Linked DNA regions of Homo sapiens: region 2 is linked to region 1. Evidence: promoter capture Hi-C in human tissues and cell types (Jung and others, 2019). All regions are on one chromosome and are shown on one strand. The core of a region is centred on a gene start or on the middle of the fragment in contact, and the rest is flanking DNA. Distances in the headings are between cores, read along the strand shown. Region 1 holds the start of MPPE1 (metallophosphoesterase 1). Region 2 overlaps GNAL (G protein subunit alpha L).

Region 1 (3,831 bases), core at 847-3,346:
TTTTTTTTTTTTTTTTTGAGATGGAGTCTCACTCTGTCGCCCAGGCTGGAGTGCAGTGGCGTGATCTGGGCTCACTGCAAGCTCTGCCTCCCGGGTTCACACCATTCTCCTGCCTCAACCTCCCGAGTAGCTGGGACTACAGGCACCTGCCACTACACCCGGCTAATTTTTTTTTTTTTTTTTTTTTTTTTAGTAGAGACGGGGTTTCACCGTGTTAGCCAGGATGGTCTTGATCTCCTGACCTCCTGATCTGCCCGCCTCGGCCTCCCAAAGTGCTGGCATTACAGGCAAGAACCACCGCGCCTGGCCGCCAATGTTTTTAAAAATGCCATTTATTTATGTAAAAGTTTGTTTGTCTTAATCATGACCCAAACAAGGTCCACAAATTGCATTTGGCTAATGTGTCTCTCAAGGTCCCCCCACCCTCTTTTTTTTAAAGACATGGGGGGTCTAGCTGTGTTGCCCAGCCTGGAGTGCAGTGGCTATTCACAGCTGTGATCATAGCTCACTACAGCCTTGAACTCTGGCCTTAAGCAATCCTCCCACTTCAGCCTCTGAACATTTATTTTTGAAAAAAGAAATTGGGTCATTTGGTTTGTAGAATTTCCCACATTCTGGATTTGGCAGATTACTTCCTGGTGGTGTAATCTAATGGGTTCATTTGGCCCCTGTATTTCCTTTAGCCTGTGATTAGTGTTATAAGCTTAACTGGTTCTAGTTTCCCTTTCTTTGTTAGTCAGAGAGAATACTTTAGAGGTGAGGCTGCAAACAATCCACGGTGCCATATTAGTGTGTTTATGGAATCAGGCTGTCCCAGTTTCGATTATGTCAAAGTTGTTCACCTGATCATATCTGAAGATATTACAATATTCTTAATAATAATAACCATTTACCGCATACTTATTGTATACCAGGCATTTTGCTGGCTGTGTCCTATATAATTCCTCAAACCACATCTCCGTGTATTAACCACACTCATAGATTTGTGAAAATGTACCAGAATTGACTGGTTGGAAGGCTCTATGTGGATTATTACTCTGAGCATGTTTACTTCTTGAAATATGAAATAATGGCTCCTGCTTTTAATATACAGGCTTATTTTGAGGATTTTTTGAACGGATGTGAGAGCACTTAGAAAACTGGAACGCGCCGCGCTACACCATTAAAATTAGTAACATCAGTGAGAAAAAAGCAAGTGCATAATAAATATTATAGTTATCCTGATTGTCTCCTTTATTCATCACACACTTCCTAAGCACATCTCTGGAGGGCACTTTCCAAGGCTCCGGGGGAGGAGAGGAAAGAGGCGCAGCCAGGCCTGGTGGGTCCCGGAGGGGCAGCGCGGCGCGGGAGGGGAACGGGGAGGCACGGCCTGGCTGCCACCGCGCGCGGAACCCGGGAGCGGCTCCGGGGCTGTCAGCTGCCCGCCTGGCTCCTCCAAGGCCTGGAGCTCGGACGCGGGCTCTGGGGGCTTCTGGGGCGCGGAAGCGGGCTCGCGGGGAGCAGTGGCCGCCCCCGGCCGCCGCGGTGGCTGTGCTCAGAAGCCGGCCCTGGCGTCAGGAGGCCGGGCGCGCGGCGCGGGGCGCGAGTTCCCCTGCCCGCCTGTGCGCCCCGCAACGGGCCTTTCCTGGGCCCTAACGACAGCTCGCCCGTGCTTCGCCCTCGCAGCTCTCCTGTGTCCCCAAAATGCCTTTCCCGCGTCCCCCGCCCTTCAGCGGTGACTGCCCAGGGGACTCTGTAACGCGACACTCAGACTGCCGAGCCTGCCAGGCACTTCGCGGAGGGCGCTAGGGGCCGGGACGCGGCCGCCGAGCGTAGGTTCCGGCCTTTACTCCGAGTTGCGCACGGAGCCCCAGCTGCGGTTGTCCGCTCTGGGGATCACAGGCCGCGGAGACCCGGGAGCCACCCGCCGGGCCCCTTCAGACGACCCGCTTCCGCAAACCGGCCGTGGGACTCCGGCGCCGGGCGGACGAAGCGGCTCCGGGAAGACTCGGTCTTCCCCGCCCGCCTGAGGTCGCCGGGGCGGGGCTTCAGTGACAGGCCCGCGCGCTACCGCGGAAACAGGAAGTTGGCTGGGTGCGCGCCGGCTCCGGCTGCAGTTCCCGGGTCCCTCGGCCACCGAAGCCACCCTGCCCTGGTGAAAGGGCTCCCGCACCGCCCGGTGCTCCCCATCTGCCTGGCGTTGTGCGCAGAGCTGGAAAGCATGGCTGTTGTATGTATTCTTGCGCCCGTGTGACAACATTTAAACTTCTAAAAACGGAACCTCCTTCCGTGTTAGGATTGCAAGTTAACCTAGGAAAAACAGCATTCTGCAAATTATTTGCTGGAAAATCTCGGTGACTTAAGGCCCATGTATTACTTTGCAGGGGTCTCTCACTCTAGTTTGCTGGTGTAGATTTTTTAAAAAATCCATCTTATCAAAAAATACCGTTTAAGGTGGAAAATTTCAAATGCAAGTCGCAGTTGATGAGATTGCAATTAATATATTTAAGATAGTGAATTAGAGAAAAACTACAGGTCAGTGCATATTAAGTATTTTTTTCATATTTTGGGGGGATTAGATTTTTAACGATAACTTTGAAGTTAAAAATTAAAAGATAGGCTGGGTGCCGTTGCTTAGGCCTGTAATTCCAGCACTCTGGGACGCTGAAGTGGGAGGATGGCTTGATCCCAGAGATGCGAGACCAGCCTGGGCAACATAGCAAGTCCCCCGCCCCCACCATAACAACAAAAGTACCAAAAAAAAAAAAAAAAAAAGCCAGGTGTAGTGGCACGCACCTGAAGTCCCTGCTACTCGAGAAGTTGTGGGGGAAAGGATCGCTTCAGCGCAGGAGTTTGGGGCTGCAGCGAGCTGTGACGCAGCCTGCGGTTGACAAAAAGTCAAAACTCTATAAAATATTTGAAGGGATTAATTCTGAGCCAAATATGAGTGACCATGGCTGGTGACACAGCCATTTGGAGACCCTGAGAACGCGTACGCAAGGTGGTCGGGGCCCAGTGTGGTTTTATGCATTTTAGGGGAGCCATGAGTCATCAGTCAAATACATGTAAGATTAAGATGTACATTGGTTCGGTCCATAAAGGTATGACAGCTGAGGAGGTGGGTGGGTCGGGGGTTTCCGGGTTATAGGTAGATTGAAAATTTTCTGATTGGCATTTGGTTGAAAGATTTATTATCAATGGAAAGGAATGTTTGGGTTACAATAAGAGGCTGTGGAGACTGAAGTTTTATCATGCAGATGAAGCCTCCAGGTAAGTTAAGTGTCCAGCATGTTAAATGCTGGTCTGCTTTTCCTGAATTCTAAAAGGGAGGAGGATGAAATGTGTCAAGTTCCACCCCCACTTCCCATCATGGCCTAAACAAGTTTTGCTTAAAACAACCTAAAACAAGGTTAACTCTGGAATGCCCTTGGTGGGGTCCATGCAGATGGTTGAGGGGTCTTAGGATTTCATTTTTGATTTACAATGGGCGGTGGAGTGAGACCCTATCTCTAAAAATAAATAAATAAATAAATACAAATTGAAAAGTTCAAAGATAAATTTTTTTTTTTTTTTTTTGAGACGGAGTTTCGCTCTTGTTGCCCAGGCTGGAGTGCAATGGCGCGATCTCGGCTCACTACAACCTCCGCCTCCCGCATTCAAGCGATTCTCCTGCCTCAGCCTCCCGAGTAGCTGGGATTACAGGCATGTGCCACTACCCTGGCTGATTTTGTATTTTTAGTAGAGACGGGGTTTCTCCATGTTGGTCAGGCTGGTCTTGAACTCCCGACCTCAGGTGATCACCCACCTCGGCCTCTCAAAGTGCTGGGATTACAGGCATGAGCCACTGCG
Region 2 (3,923 bases), core at 38-2,537, 160 kb after region 1:
ATGAAAAATGCAAAGCCAATCTTAGCCTATTTTCAGGTAGGAATTCAACACACCTTAAAAAAATTTTTAACCCAATCACCTGACCTTTTTCTAGTTTGGTCTGGGAAACCGATTCTCATTTGTGTTTAGAACCATTGGATCAGCATCAGGTGTACCAGCTGGCCACCTGGAGCAGTGGGAGCAGGGCTGGTGGGGAGGGTACCAAGAGCAGAGTGGCGCCCGCTGCCAGTGTGAGCGTCTGTTGCTAGGCAACCGCAGCAGCAGCATTGCGCTCCCCGGCAACACACCCACCTGCGGGGACCCAGGGCTGCCCTGGGAGCCACCGGCAGAGGGTCCAGGCTGACTGCGCCAGAGCCAGGAAGAGAAGGTCCTGGTCACCTCGTGGAGAATTTGAAAGGCACAAAAGTAAAACAGTTGTTTCCTCACTCTTGTTGAAGTTTAAGACATACAGGATGTCTCAGAAGTCTTTTTCTTTCTTTTTTTTTTTTAATTTAAGACTTTTATTTTTTTCACACCCCAGTAGGCCTGGGTGATTTTCCTTGCCCCCCTATCCATCCCCAGTACCCCTATCCATCCCCAGTACCCCTATCCTTCACAACAAGAACATTTGCTGTTGCTCTTTGGCTCAGAGAGCACCTAGGCTTAGGTAGCTGACTTGCAGTGGGTCAGTGAGCGGGCATCGATCCATGTGGGCATGCGGTACTGGGTCAGCCACTGCACCCTGCCTGGGTAGTGGCATTCAAGCCTCAAGGGCATGAACAGACTTCTTTGGCTTTAGGATATTGAAGGGAAATTTCTGGCCCACATTTGCTGTCATTGCGTCTTCAACCTGATGTTCAACATATTCCTGTAACACCTTAAACCAGGCATTCTTATTCCATCCCTGAAGGCTTCTTTTGTTCCCCAGAGAATCTCTTCAGGGTCTCAGACTGGAGTCCTCAAATGTCTCTTTCAGGAGCTGTTTCTCCACCTCATCTTTGGAGTTCTCATTTCTGGTGGCAGAGACATGTAACAGGAAGAAAATCGATGATGCAGAAACCAGACTCTCAGTTCAAGGCTGTGGGCAGCGTGGGCAGTTCGATCTGCGCTGAGAACACCAAACAAATAGAGCTCCTTCAGAGGCCTCTCTCTCCTCGGCCTCATGAAAATATACATAACCCTGCATAAGTTCATCTGATCTCTGTCCAGAGAAGATCACCATGCTATCTGTGTTCTTCCAAATCTACTCGGAAATTAAATACTCACCTACTGAAGTGCAAACTGTTGTAATGTCCTAAGTTTCCAAGGAAAATATGACTTCATCCAGAGCCTGAGTGCCTTCCTCAGAGTTCAAGAGGGTTTCATGATGTTCACTTCCAATACGATCTGCCACTCGTCCAGCAACCAATAAATCAGGGCTGCCCTCCATGCCAGTCACAAATGTCTGGGGAGTGTATTTTGCACTGCGTCTCTTTCAGCTGCTTCACCTGGGTGGCAGCAACCAAGCCAGAGTCCAAGCCCCTAATAAAATGGAGCCTATCCTTCTGTCTGTCGTCAAAATTGTCCTTCTCCTTTTTCTCCCTCTCCTTCTTCTTCTTTCTTTTTTTTAGACACAGGGTCTCACTCTGCTGCCAGGCTTGAGTGCAGTGGCACAATCACAGCTCACTGTAGCCTCAACCTCCTGGGCTGGAGGGATCCTCTCCCCTTGGCCTCCCAAGTAGCTGGGACTACAGGCATGTGCCACCACTCCTGGGTAATTTTTAAATTTTCTGTAGAGATGGGGTCTTGCTATGTTGCCCAAGCTGGTCTTAAACTCCTGGACTCAAGTGATCCTTCCACCTTGGCCTCCCAAAGTGCTGGGATTACAGGTGTGAGCCACTGCACCTGGCATTAAATTCTTCTTAATATCATTGTTAAAAAGGAACCAAAGCTTGCTCTTCAAAGTTTCTGTCTCTAAACCTGAGAAGAGCTTCTCCACATTGTTACAGAAGGCATGCAGAGGTTGTACCTACAGTGATGATATTTAACCATTTCCACAGATGCAACTTTGCCATTTGCCTTTAAATCCAAAACTTCATAGTGTCCCAGAACAAAAGGCTCCACTTTTAAAAGGGGAGTCGTGGAGTGCTCCAATGGAACAAGAACTTCAGCTTCTGAAGACACAACCAAAATCCATCTTCTGTTACGGCTTTAAACAAAACCCGACTCCCTAGGTATCTCTGCCCAAGAACACTTTCTTATTGGCAGTATCTAGCAAAGTAATTGCAAATACATCATCCAACATACAAACTGTTTGCTCAATCCCTCTTTTGTCGTAAAGATGACGATTATCTCACTATTCACGTTGGTCTGGTGTTCAAATTCAAAATGGTGTTGCATCTTTTTTTTGTGGTTGTAGCTTTCACTATTGTAACAGGGCTACAAATATGGATATTTCTTCACTCAAATCGGCTGCATTCCAAATAGCTGATCAACCACTGCCAACTGGTGAAATCCAAAGAAGCAGTTGGTGTGTCCATTGGCATTCTCAAAACGAAATGCGTGTGAACAGAAAGGCAGTCGTTGCTGCCAAAGAGGGCCCAAATGCCATATACGGTCCTGTGAAGCCATGGGCTCTGATTTATTCAAATAAATCAAATGTGATGGAAAAGACTAGGCACCAGCGGGTCAGGTTGGAGGGGACAGCCAGGGCCAGGGCTGCAGAAGGCATCTCAGAAGTCTTAGTGCATTTGAAAGTTTAATTATTTAAATTTCTTTTATACTTAGTTTTGTAAATTTTGAATAATAATTTAAAAACTTGGTCTCTTTCAGTCTTTCGGATTGAAGATGGCAAATGTTGAAAAAAAAGTCACCTGTTCTCTGGTTAGCTGAGCTTAAGTCCCCAATAGCAGTAAGAAGGAAATTTGTTTCCCATTATAAGGAGCCTCCCACCCCTGCAGAAATTTAATTAACAACTGGATGAAAGGATGAAAAAATTCAAGGCAGCTGTTTCAGTTCACGACAGGCCAAGATCCAGGAGATGCTGATCAAGTTTGAAAACTGACTAGATGTATGTATAGCACAAGACGGTGGATACATTAAATTTTAATAAAAAAACAATAGATAGAAAATGTAATAACTGGTCTTCTGTAGTCTTTATACTTTAAAGGTTATTAAAGATGAAAACTGCACTAAGACTTCTGGAACAGGTACATCAACAGTTTTAGCGCCCATCACAGTGGCTCACACCTGTAGTCCCAGCACTTTGGGAGACCAAGGAGGGGCAGATTGCCTGAGCTCCGGAGTTTGAAACCAGCCTGGGCAACATGGCGAAACCCCAATTCTACAAAAATTACAAAAGTTAACCGGGCATGGTGGGATGCACCTGTAGTCCCAGCTACTTGGAAGGCTGAGGCAGGAGGATTGCTGGAGCCCAGGAGGTCGAGGCTGCAGTGAGTCATGTTTGCATCAGTGCACTCCAGCCTGGGTGAGAGAGCGAGACTCTGTCTCTGAGGAACAAAACAGTTTACGAAAGGTGAATGGTCACTAAATTCTATGCACTAACAATGCTCCAAGAAGCCGAAAGCTATAGCCCGAGAGTTGCAAACAACTGGGTGGTGCTGGAGTTGTGGCCACTGAGTGACCAGTGTGCACACAGCCCTCAGATGGGGGTCCCTTCGGGACATTTTAAACAACTTCCTGTTGTTTTATCTCTCTTTTTTTTCTTAGTATCTTGGTGGAAATAACCTGAGTAGATGATCATTCATTTTTAGCAGCAGAGATCATTCTGTGACCTAATTATAGTACACTTAAAAAACATCATGATAAAAATTTTAACGATTTTTAGAGAAAAGCAGGGAAATATTTTTCCATTTTCCTTTTCTGTACATAATAATCTGTGATCAAATATTTTAGAATGTATTGAAATAATTTATCTTCTATTTTTCTTACCCCTATAACCAAAG

What was found. The method cuts DNA at HindIII sites, captures the fragments that hold promoters and counts their contacts. A contact is called where the count stands out against the background at its distance.
Region 2: a fragment that was not itself captured here is called in contact with the fragment with the promoter of MPPE1 in region 1 in 1 of the 25 tissues and cell types used here (aorta).

Annotation. Positions count from the first base shown.
Region 1 is chr18:11,906,582-11,910,412 of GRCh38, reverse strand. It overlaps MPPE1 (metallophosphoesterase 1), which reads left to right and starts at 2,096. Exons shown (of 11, transcript NM_023075.6): 1 at 2,096-2,212. RefSeq lists a silencer at 1,304-1,703. The HindIII fragment of the contact is 9,458 bases long and covers 1-3,831 here.
Region 2 is chr18:11,744,274-11,748,196 of GRCh38, reverse strand. All of the region lies in intron 1 of GNAL (G protein subunit alpha L), which reads right to left. It also overlaps the pseudogene ASNSP6. Among named protein-coding and RNA genes, the nearest start is that of GNAL, 57 kb to the right of the region's middle. The HindIII fragment of the contact is 7,412 bases long and covers 1-3,923 here.